2 separate regions of the Homo sapiens genome follow, and region 1 is linked to region 2. The links are contacts of gene promoters, found by promoter capture Hi-C in human tissues and cell types (Jung and others, 2019). All regions are on one chromosome and are shown on one strand. The core of a region is centred on a gene start or on the middle of the fragment in contact, and the rest is flanking DNA. Distances in the headings are between cores, read along the strand shown.

What was found. Contacts are between HindIII fragments. The study calls those that stand out against the background at their distance.
Region 1: a contact is called between a fragment that was not itself captured here and the fragment with the promoter of SLC9A1 in region 2, in 4 of the 25 tissues and cell types used here (IMR-90 fibroblasts, aorta, heart right ventricle and 1 more).

Annotation. Positions count from the first base shown.
Region 1 is chr1:26,965,425-26,971,785 of GRCh38, reverse strand. No RefSeq gene overlaps it. Among named protein-coding and RNA genes, the nearest start is that of KDF1, 8.1 kb to the right of the region's middle. RefSeq lists a silencer at 4,355-5,055. The HindIII fragment of the contact is 6,129 bases long and covers 274-6,361 here.
Region 2 is chr1:27,152,729-27,158,495 of GRCh38, reverse strand. SLC9A1 (solute carrier family 9 member A1) reads left to right here and starts at 3,371. Exons shown (of 12, transcript NM_003047.5): 1 at 3,371-4,513. The coding sequence starts at 4,162. It overlaps LOC102723760 (a long non-coding RNA gene), which reads right to left and starts at 935. Exons shown (of 3, transcript XR_426674.4): 1 at 870-935; 2 at 1-77. RefSeq lists an enhancer at 1,977-2,476 and a silencer at 3,422-3,651. The HindIII fragment of the contact is 28,159 bases long and covers 1-5,767 here.

The DNA.
Region 1 (6,361 bases), core at 2,089-4,588, 190 kb after region 2:
GAGTTACTTCTTCACTCAGAGCCTCAGTTTGCTTATCCATAAAATGGGAAGAATCCTATCTTCAGATGGTCTTCTCTTGTGTGTCTGCTTTTACCTATTGCTGCCAGGGATGGAAGGTGGCTGGTATCTCACCCTGCACCACCTTGTCTGACCAACAACTATTTTCTAGCGCCTCCTCAAATTGAGAAGCACTCCTGGAATCCCTCCCCTGGGACCCAACGAGCCCTGGATAACCTTCCACTGCAGCATTAAACTGTCGCCTCTCACGTTGTGTTGGCATCTCTGGGCATAGTCTGTGTCCTGACACACTGTGGGCTCCCCAAGGTCACTCACTGAGTCCTGTTCTCTCAGTGCTTGGCCCAGGGCTAGGCACGGAGTAGGGGCTCAGGGAGACCTCTTGGGTTCCCTACCTCGATTACTGCCCCCTCCCCACCCCCACTCCCACCCCACCCTGCCTCACCGTACCTGCCAGGGACTTTGTGTCTCCACTGCTGCTGACTCTCCCAAGCCCAGTGTCCTCCTGTGTCTAATTTGGGAGGTCCTGGGCAGGACCCTGCACCATCACCCCATGACCTCTGGCAAACCCCACCCACTCCCCTCTACCCTTGAATTTCATTCATTTCCTTCTACCACAAATGTAGGGGTGGTGCTAAACTGTTACACTGGTGGCCTCCAATGAACCATGGTCTTGTATGGTCCCCTCCCATGTTGACTCTGGGCTTGGCTGTAGGACTTGTTTTGGCAACGGGACACCAAGAAGCATGAAGCAAGCAGAGGCTTGATAAGCATTTGCACACTGGGGCTTGTCCTCTTGGAGGCCAGCTGCCACGCTAAAACACGGTCGGCTAGACTTCTGAATGATGAGAGGCCGTGGAGGAAGACAAGCCGTTTTGGGTGATCCAGTCTCAGCTAAGCTCCCAGCCACATGCATCAGCCAGGCGGAACCAGAACTGCCCTGCTGAGCCCCAACCAAGCCACAGAATTTTTAGAAATAATATATCATTGTTGTTTTATGCCACTAAGTTTTGGGGATAGTTTGTTTCTCAGCAATAAGCAACTGAAATAAGGGATACCCTAAGTCCCCTCTTCCCTCACCCTCTGCATCCAGTCCTGTGGGATCCGCCTCTGGAATATTTCATGGATCTGACCACTTCTCACCATGTCCCCAGGTGCCATCATCTCTCACCTGGACTCCCCGCGTAAGCATTGCCTTCCTGCAATCACCATACAGCAACCAGGGCCACTCCCTGGCTCAACACCCTCCAGTCAGTTCCCATATCCCTTAGATTAAAAGAAGTCCCGGGCAGGCATGGTGGCTCACACCTGTAATCCCAGCACTTTGGGAGGCCAAGGCGGGCAGATCACGAGGTCAAGAGTTCGGGACTAGCCTGACCAACATGATGAACTCCTACTCTACTACAAATACAAAAATTACCCAGGCATGGCGGTGCACACCTGTAATTCCAGCTACTCAGGAGGCTGAGGCAAGAGAATCACTTGAACCCAGGAGGTGGAGGTTGCAGTGAGCCGAGATCGCACCACTGCACTCCAGCCTGGGTGACAGCATGAGACTCCGTCTCAAAAAAAAAGATTAAAAGAAGTCCCTCTCCCCCTTGCTCACTGCACTCGGACAACACTGGCTTCCTTCCTGTTCCTCTAACATGCTGAGCTTATCCCAACCTCAGGGCCTTTGCACCAGCTGTTCACCCTGCCTGGAACACTCTTCCTCTCGGTCTTTCCATCTAGGTCTTTCCATTCTCAGCTTAAATGTCTCCTCCTCAGGAATGCTATCTATAGAAGAGGAAACTGAGGCTCGGAAAAGTGAGGTCATTTCCCAAGTTCACACAGTTAGGAAAAGGCTGGACCAGGATTCCATCCCAGGTCTGTTTGACCCTCTCTCCAGGGCACTTTCTCCCACATCGATGGTTTGGGAGGCAAAGCTGGTGGTCATGGGCTCCTGAGAAAGGGGAAGAATTGGAGGGGCCTCCTTCACTTACCCCCTCCATAAACACTCCCAGCCAGAGCCTTTGGGCTCTGCCCTGGCTGGGTGCTGGGGACTCAGGGATGAATCAGAACAGACCTTGCCCACTGGGAGCTTCAGTCTGAAGGCAGGAAAAGCAGCAGGGGAGGTCAAGATCACTTAGGGACCCAGATGGCCTTGACTTAGCATAGGGGACAGCCTTCTAGCTGGGGGCTCTCTAGGAAGGCTTCCAAGAGGCATTGGCTCTTGGAAGTGACATTGGCTGGGGTGGGCAGAACGTAGGGGGTGGTGTTCAGTGGCCAGAGCTGCAGTGCTCTCTCTGAGTGACCAGGAGCCTCAGCTTGGCCATGTGTAGCCTTTCCTCTGTGTGTGTGTGTGTGTGTGTGTGTGTGTGTGTGTGTGTGTGTGTGTGTGTGTAACAGTGAGGGAGTAGTATGGTGGGGGATGAGGGTGCAGCCAAGAGAAGGGCTGAATGAATAAATGCATTTCACTGATGTAGAAACTAAAGCCCAGAGAGTCTGAGTCACTTGTCCAGGCTCACAAAGCACCAAGCAGTAAAGGCAGGATCTGAACCCAGGTTTAACCTGACACCACACAGAGGCAAGTGAGGAAGCAGAGGTCCATATTCACCAAGGCCCACCCCTTACTCACTATGTGACCTCAACTAAGCTCGTTCCCCTCTCGCACCTCATTTTCTCATTGGCAAATTGAGGGGGTTGGGTGAAGCTTCTTTTGGCACAAGGACTCTGGAAAATACTTTTACTAGGGACTTGGAACCAACCAGCAGATCCTGCCTCAACCTGGCACAAGATAGGGTTCCTCAGCCTGCAGCTCCCTCTAGGCCCAGCCAATGGGGTGCAGCACTGGCACAAGACAGAGAACCCCAGGAATCCCTGGGGGCTCCCGTCTAACAGTGCAGCCTGGAGTTCCAGGGGGCTTCCCCTGCACCTCTCTCCACAGCTCTCACACAGTACAGAGCCCTGTTCGCTTGCCCCTCACCCCCTTCACCGCCACCCCCACCCCACAAGCGTAACAGTTTTTTTTGTTTGTTTTGTTTTGTTTTTTGAGATGGAGTCTCGCTCTTGTTGCCCAGGCTGGAGTGCAATGGTGTGATCTCGGCTCACTGCAACCTCCACCTCCCGGGTTCAAGCGATTCTCCTGCCTCAGCCTCCCAAGTAGCTGGGATTACAGGCATGAGCCACCATGCCCAGCTAATTTTGTATTTGTAGTAGAGATGGAGTTTCTCCATGTTGGTTAGGCTGGTCTCGAACTCATGACCTCAGGTGATCCGCCCACCTCGGCCTCCCAAAGTGCTAGGATTACAGGTGTGAGCCAACGCAGCCGGCCTCTAAGGACCCAGTTTCTGGGGGGCCCAGAGGAGCCACTGCAAAGAGCTCAGGCTCTGAACCAGAATGAACTTGGGCTCAGCTCTAGGCTCTGCCACTTACTAGCTATGTGACCCTGGGCAAGTGGTTTAAATCTCTGAGCCTCTGTTTTCTTAGCTGTAAAACAGGAGTTTGAGATCTGTTTACTGAGTTATTGTGAGGATTTTTTTTTTCGCTTGGGGGACAGGGTCTTGCTCTGTCACCCAGGCTGGAGTGCAATGGCATGATCACTGCTCACTGCAACCTTGACCTCCTAGGCTCAAGTGATCCTCCTGCCTCAGCCTCCTGAGTAGCTGGGACCACGGGCGTGCATCACCATACTGGCTAATTTCTTTTCTTTCCTTTTTTTTGGCAGAGACAAGGTCTTGCTGTTTCCCAGCCTGGTCTGAACTCCTGAGCTCAAACGATCCTCCTGTCTTGGCCACTCAAAGTGCTGGGATTGCAGGTGTGAGCCACCCTGCTGGCCTTATTATGGGGATTAAATGGAATAAGGCACATAATAAACCTAACATGTTGTAGGCAGTCGTGGTCAATACCAGTAATTTGCTCAGCTTATTCTCAGAGGCAGTGGTCTTGCCTTTGAGAGTCCCAGCCCCAGAATGGCGGGGCAGGGAGCCAGAGGGTGGGGTGTGGAGGTGAGGAAGGGGGTTAATATAAAATAGCTAACATCTGTTTAGCACTTACCATGTGCTGGTCTCGGTTGTAATCACCACATGAAGCTATCACCCACACTTTACAGATGAGGTGTCTGAGGCACAGAGGAGTTCAATAACTTGGCCAAAGGAACACACAGCAAGTACGTGTATGAGCTGGGGCACGAGTTCAGATCCTATGGCTCCAGAACTCACACTCTAAACCACTGTGTTATCTTACCTCATGTTAAAACCATTTTTGGATGAGAAATGCTGAGGTCCAGGCCAGGCGTGGTGGCTCACGCCTATAATCCCAGCACTTTAGGAGGCCGAGGTGGGTGGATCACCTGAGGTCAGGAATTCGAGACCAGCCCGGTCACATGGTGAAACCCCATCTCTACTAAAAATACAAAAATTAGCTGCACGTGGTGGCCTGTGCCTGTAATCCCAGCTACTCCAGAGGCTGAGGCAGGAGAATCGCTTGAAGCCAGGAGGCAGAGGTTGCAGTGAGCCAAGATCGCACCATTGCACTCCAGCCTGGGCAACAGAGCGAGACTCCGTTTCAAAAAAGAAAAAAAAAAAAAAAGGAAATGCTGAGGTCCAAAGAGGCTAAGTTCACACCACAGCTGAGCATCTAGTATTCCAAGTCAGAACCTGTGACCCTGAAGTTCTGGCAATTTCCACTGTTGTGTGCTGTCCCCTAGTGCCCTTATGGGAGAAGCACACCAGAGGCAAGCAGCAGATACCCAGGGAAGGAAGGGAAGCAGGTCCACTGAAGCCGGCTCCACACACCACTGCCTACATTCCCCTGACCCACGGCTCCTCCACAGCCCCAGCGCTGTACGTGTTGCAGCTCCTAAACAGCACTCCAAAATGGCATCCATGGATACAATGGTGATATGTCTGGGCTATCTTACAGACCATCAAATTCAATAGGTCTAACACTACGTTTGCATTCTTACACCCCAAACTGGTCCTCCCCAGTCATCTCCATTCATCCAGTAACACAGCCAGAAGCCCAGCGTCATCCTTGATACTTCCCTCCTCCCACCAAGCTGTCACCACCAGCCTGGGAGCCTAAATGGTGGCTGAGGAGGGTGATCAGAAAAGTAAAAATTGAACAGAGTGGAGCAACCATGGGGAAAGCAGGGGATTGGGACAATGGCCCCAGGTCAAGGCCAAAAGGAAAAACTGAGCTCAAGAGGCTGATGACAGAGGCAGTTGTCCACTCTGCTTAGAAAGAAACCCAGACACGCTGGGTGCGGTAGCTCATGCTTGTAATCCCAGCACTTTGGGAGGCTGAGGCGGGTGGATCACGAGGTCGGGAGATTGAGACCATCCTGGCTAACTCGATGCAACTCCGTCTCTACTAAAAATACAAAAAATTAGCCAGGTGTGGCAGCACACGCCTGTAGTCCTAGCTACTAGGGAGGCTGAGGCAGGAGAATCACTTGAACCTGGGAGGCGGAGGTTGCAGTGAGCCAAGATCACGCCACTCCACTCTAGCCTGGGAGACAGAGCAAGACTCTGTCTCAAAAAAAAGAAAGAAACCCAGACACAGCTGTAAGGGCTTGGAGGAGGGCACAGTGAGGAACATTGTATGGGGAGTCAGAAAGATGGGGTTCCCACCCAGCTTTACTACTCATTAGAAGTGTGGCCTTGAGCAAATGGTCTAACCTTGATGGCCTCAGTTTCCCCACTTGTAAAAATGAATATGACATTGCCAACCTCATAGGGCTGTAATATGGATCAAGTAAAAAATGTGTTTGTTTTGTAAAGTGTAAAGGAAAGCGCACAGGAGAGGCAGGTTGTGACCCGGAAAACTCACCCCAGTAGACCTCTCTCTCCTTTGTCGGCTGAATGATGGACCTATAAGGTACTCTGTTTTGCTTCAAAGAGTGTCAATTTTTTGTTTGTTTTTTGTTTGTTTGTTTGTTTGTTTGTTTGTTTTGTAGGGAGGGGGTTGGTTTTGTTATTTTTTGTTTATTTATTTTTATTTACTTATTTATTTTGAGACAGATTTTCGCTCTGGCGTCCAGGCTGGAGTGCAATGGCGCAATCTCACTGCAACCTCCGCCACCTGGGTTCAAGCTACTCTCCTGCCTCAGCCTCCCGATTAGCTGGGATTACAGGCATGAGCCACCACGCCTGGCTAATTTTTTTGTATTTTTACCAGGGACGGGGTTTCACCATGTCAGTCAGGCTGGTCTCGAACTCCTGGCCTCAGGTGATCCGCCCACCTCGGCCTCCCAAAGTGTTGAGATTACAGGGTGAGCCACCGCGCCTGGCTTGTTTTGTTATTTATTTATTTATTTATTTATTTATTTAAAAAATTTTATTTATTTACTTAAATTGACTAATAA
Region 2 (5,767 bases), core at 2,122-4,621:
CTGCTCCCAGATGACACAAGTCCCCTGCCCTTCTCTGAAGTCTCTTTTGTCATTTCCCAGGTGGCTGGAATTTGTGCCTGGAGAATGTGAGGTACAGAGAACTCAGTTTAGGCATGGGATTATAAAAAAAGAGAGAGAGAGAGAGAACTCAGTTTAATGTTGCCACCTTCAGTTACTATCATATCACTTTATTAATTATTTTATTTTTATATTCATTTATTTATTTTGAGACAGAGTCTCCCTCTGTCACCCAGGGTGGAGTGCAGTGGCACAATCTCAGCTCACTGCAACCTCCGTCTCCTGGGTTCAGGGGATTCTCCCACCTCAGCCTCCCAAGTAGCTGGGACTATAGGTATGCTCCACCACGCCCAGCTAATTTTTGTATTTTTTGGTAGAGACAGGGTTTTGCCATGTTAGCCAGGCTGGTCTTGAACTCCTGACCTCAAGTGATCTGCCTGCCTCAGCCTCCCACAGTGCTGGAATTACAGGCGTGAACCACTGTGCCTGGCCTAATTAATTTTTAGAGATGGGTCTCACTATGTTTCCCAGGCTGGAGTGCAGTGGCTATTTCACAAGCACAATCATAGTGCATTACAGCCTCAAATTCCTGGGTTCAAGTGATTCTTCTGCCTCAGCCTCCCAAGTAGCTGGGACTACAGGTGCATGCCACTGCACCTGGATATTATTATTTTATTTTACTTATTTTTTTTAAAGACAGGGTCTCCCTATGTTGCCTAGGTTGGTCTTAAACTCCTGGCCTCAACTGATACTCCCATCTCAGGCTCCTGAGTTGCGGGGATTACAGGCATGAGCCACTGCTGCTAGCTTATTATTATTTTAATATATTTTTCCATGGAAGGATAGCATACCTAGAAAAAGGTGCACACATCTTGAGTCTTCAGTGAGTTATCACGAAACAACTACGTCGCTGTAACCTTTGTAGCTATCACCCAGTAAAGAAATAGAACATTACCAGCATTCTAGAAGCCCTCATTATGTCCACTTTATGCCCCCTCCCAATTCCTACCACCTCCTTCCTCCCTCTGGCTTATCTCTGTGTTGCCAGAGCCCAGCACAAAGCCCTGTCAAGAGGCCCAGTAAACATTTGTTAAACTAAATTGAATCTCAAGTACTTGTGATGTGACCTTGAGCTAGACACTTTGACTGTTTTGGCCTTAATGTACTCTTCTGCAAAACAGGGACAGCATTTCAGTGATTTCTATACCTCCCAACCCTAGTTGTATATCAGAGCCTTTGAAAAAAATACTTTGGCACTACCCTGAAGTAATTGAATCTAAATCTCTGACGGTGGGTCCCCGAAAATGATATTTTACAAAAGATGATGATGATGATGATTACTATGATTGACAGGGTCTCCCTTTGTTGCCCAGGCTAGAGTGCTGTGGTGGATCATAGTTCACTGTAGTCTCAAACTCCTAGGTTCAAATGATACTCCTGCCTCAGCCTCCCAAGCAGCTAGGACTACCAAGCACAGCTAATTTTATCAGACAATGGTATTTATTTTTATTTATTTATTTTTTTTTGAGACAGAGTCTCGCTCTGTTGCCCAGGCTGGAGTACAGTGGTGCAATCTTGACTTACTGCAACCTCCGCCTCCTGGGTTCAAGTGATTCTCTTGCCTCAGCCTCCTGACTAGCTGGGATTACAGGCATGTGCCACCACGCCCGGCTAATTTTTTTTTTTTTTTTTTTTTTTTGAGACGGAGTCTCGTTCTGTCGCCCAGGCGGGAGTGCTGTGGCGCGATCTCCGCTCACTGCAAGCTCCGCCTTCCGGGTTCACGCCATTCTCCTGCCTCAGCCTCCCGAGTAGCTGGGACTACAGGCGCCCGCCACTGCGCCCGGCTAATTTTTTGTATTTTTAGTAGAGACCGGGTTTCACCGTGGTCTCGATCTCCTGACCTCGTGATCCGCCCGCCTCGGCCTCCCAAAGTGCTGGGATTACAGGCGTCAGCCACTACGCCCGGCCTAGACAATGGTATTTTAAAAAAGCTTTCCAGTGATTCCATTGTACAGCCATGATCCCTTGAACCTCACCAATTTCAACCAAACTATAGGTTCAAATTTAAGTTCCACTACTTAAAGCATGCCACTGTTGTGGGTTGAATTGTGTCCCGGCAAAAGAAGTTGAAGTCCTAATGCCCAGTGCCTATGAAGATGGACTAATTAGGATGCAGTCTTTGAAGATGTTCAGGTTAAGATGAGGTAATTACGTTGGATTTCTAATCCAATGACTGGTGTCCTTATAAAAAGGGGAAATCTGGCTGGGGGTTGTGGCTTACCCCTGTAATCCCAGCACTTTGGGAGGCCGAGGCGGGTGGATCACCTGAGGTCAGGAGTTCGAGACCAGCCTGACCAACATGGTGAAACCCCATCTCTACTAAAAATACAAAAATTAGCTGGACGTGGTGGTGGGTGCCAGTAATCCCAGCTACTCTGGAGGCTGAGGCAGGAGAATCGCTTGAATCCAGGAGGCAGAGGTTGCATTGAGCTGAGATGGCGCCACCGCACTCCAGCCTGGGCAACAAGAGCCAGACTCTATCTCAAAAAAAATAAAAATAAAAATAAAGTGTGGGCGGGGAATCTGGACGCAGAGACAGAGACACCAGGAGAACTCCATGGAATACCAGATAGTCCTAACAAACCACTGGAAGGTAGGAGAAAGGCATGGGACAGATTCTCCCTCATAGCTCTCAGCTGAAACCAACCCTGCCAACACCTAGATCCGACCTCCAGCCTCCAGAACTGTGAGACAATCAATTTCTGTTGTTGCAGCCACCCAGTTTGGGGTGATACTTTGTTACGGCAGCCCTAGTAAGCAATACAACTACTTGCATAGTAGCCAGGGGACTCTCTTCACCTGTTTCCTCATCTGTAAAAGTGGAATTGTAATAATGTGCCAGGGTGCATTCCAAATAGTTTACACGGATTGTCTCAGTCATTACATCATCCCTCTGACATAGTCACTATTACTGTCTCTACTTAACAGATGAGAAAGTTGTGAAACAGGTTAAGTAACTTGCTCAAGGTCACACGGTAACTAAATACATAAACTAATAATACATTCTTCACAGGATTATTCGAAAGCCCTTATGAGACTGCAGATGTGGACGTGAAATCGTTTTGTAAGTAGTCGGCATTTTACTCGCGTTAGTGAGGTTCTCTGTATATTCAGGACTTTTTTTTTTTTTTTTTTTTGTCATCTCTGACTCTCCTTCCTCTTCCTACGCGATACTTCTTTCCCTCGGCGACAGGGGCCGCTGCGCTGGGCGGGTGCCGACGGTCTCTCTAGCCCGCCGCACCGGCTGCTCGCTGGTGCCTATAAGTGACAGCGCCGGGCTCAGCTAGGCTTCAGTCTGCTGCCGCCGGGGCCGGGGCTAGGGTTAGTTCTGGAGCTGGACCAGGAGGAGCTGCAGCTGGGCCGGGGCGGAGCGCCGCGTCGCGCCAGGGCCGCGAGGAGGGGCGTGTTGCTGCTGGCCCACCGCGAGCCGCCCCCAGCCCGCGCCGAGGCGCCTTCCCGCCAGGCCGCCTGCCTTCCGCCTCTTTCCATTTCCCCGGAATCTCAGCCCGGCGCGCCTGGACCCCTGCCCCTCTCTGGGTGGAGAAGCTCCCGGCCGCTTCCCGGTTTCACTCCTTCTCAGCCTGGGCTCCCAGCCCCCTCTCTCCTTTTCCTGGACTGGCTCTCACCCCCTTCGGTCCCCTTCCTTTAGCTCAGGCTCCCTACCCCTTCCTTTAGCCCACAGCCCAGAGTCCCAGCTCCTCAGTCACTTTCCTCAGCCAAAGGTCCCAGCCTTCCTTCTTCCTTTCCTTTGCACTATCCCTATCCTGCCCCTTCCTCTATCCCTAGGGCTCAGTTTCCCACATCCGTCCTCCCCCTTCCCAGGCCCGGAGTTCCAGACCTTTTGGTCTCCTTTCGTGGTCGTTCCTGGGTCCTTGCCCCCTTTCCCCACTTTGGAGTTCCAGATTGCAAACCCAGCCTCCCTCCACCCCCAGAAAATTGCTTCCATGGAAATGCCTCTCTAAAACATGAACTTTTCCTAGAGACTACGCCAGTCTCTCTTCCCACTTGCTGACCCTTTGCTACCTATGTGCCCGGTTTTACTCTCATTTGGGTAAGGTCGAGGCTGGCTCTGGAAGCAGCACCATGGTTCTGCGGTCTGGCATCTGTGGCCTCTCTCCACATCGGATCTTCCCTTCCTTACTCGTGGTGGTTGCTTTGGTGGGGCTGCTGCCTGTTCTCAGGAGCCATGGCCTCCAGCTCAGCCCAACTGCCAGCACCATTCGAAGCTCAGAGCCACCACGAGAACGCTCGATTGGGGATGTCACCACCGCTCCACCGGAGGTCACCCCAGAGAGCCGCCCTGTTAATCATTCCGTCACTGATCATGGCATGAAGCCGCGCAAGGCCTTTCCAGTCCTGGGCATCGACTACACACACGTGCGCACCCCCTTCGAGATCTCCCTCTGGATCCTTCTGGCCTGCCTCATGAAGATAGGTAAGTCCCGTTTGCTCCGATGCTGCGGCCGCCACCAGACTGGTGAGCTTCTTGCCTCATCTCGCACCATTTGAGGCTGTCCAGGAGTAAGGATCTGAACTACCCCCATAAAGTAGGCAGTCTCCATCCTGCCACCTTGGTCCTTCTCAGGCTCCAGTTCTGTGGCTTCTGATCTGTGATCTGAGGCTTCCCAAGATTGGAGCCAGCACTGTGCACAGAAGAGAGCAGGATTAGAGAATGGGATGCCTCTGATCCTAGGTCCCTTCAGTAAGGCTTCCACGACTGGCAAGTCTCCTCTGGCTGGGCCAGACCCCCAGGGGAGCCAGGCACCCCGCTGTGTGTGAGACAGAAAGGAGTGTCTTCTGGCGAGTGGCACATTCTGCTCTGTCAACAGCAACCAGTGCAATTTATGACAGGCTTCACTGGAGCGTGTTCCAGGATGGAGTATATTTCTACTTGGCCTGCTTGAGGAGTTTAAGCATAGTGGAGACCTGGGCACAGGAAACTTACAAGTGTGGTGGAACACAGGGGATCCCCATATTCCCACCTTTCCTTCATCTCCAGAATGTTATCTGTCAGCTTTGCTTGTCCAGGCTAGTTAGGAGCCCCTGAGTCAATTTCCGGCCCAGGAATGCCATACTTTATAGAATCTGTGGGACAAGGGGCCCTGGAAATTTCTGAAGTCTGTTTTGGAAGTGGAGGGAGAGTAGAGGAGGTTGAGGCTTGGTCTGACCCCAGCTCACCCCCAGGTCGCTGCCTGGCTGTGTCTCAGGGTGCTGTCTGGCCTGCTGCTCAATCAAGTAGATGAGGTAGATGGGGGAGCCTAGGGATGTTCAGGCCTGAAGAGACTTTGAAACCTTCTTTTGGGGAGAAGGAAACAGACAACTTATTTGCTCTCAGAGTATTGGTCTCCCTGCTAGGCCTGAGCACTCTGTTCTGCTGAGTGATTGGGGGAGCTTACTGGAGCCTACATTGCCCAGAAGTCCCTGAAAGTGGTGTTCAGGGGGACTTTGACAACTGCCTTTGCATTTTCAGCTTGCCCCCAGCTGGCTGTGGAAGGCATGAGGTCCTGGGACTCTGCTGTCCCCTCTGCCTGAGATTTGGGTTTGGGAATTTGGCAGGAAACCTTCCAGCTCTCCCAAGGACATGCAGGAGCTGAGCGGTGCTGCCGGGCTGGTGTGAGGCAGGCTCTGGGACATGCAGCGGGAGGGAAGTGGTGCCTCTAATTTGACAGATCCAGGAGCTGGGTTCCTG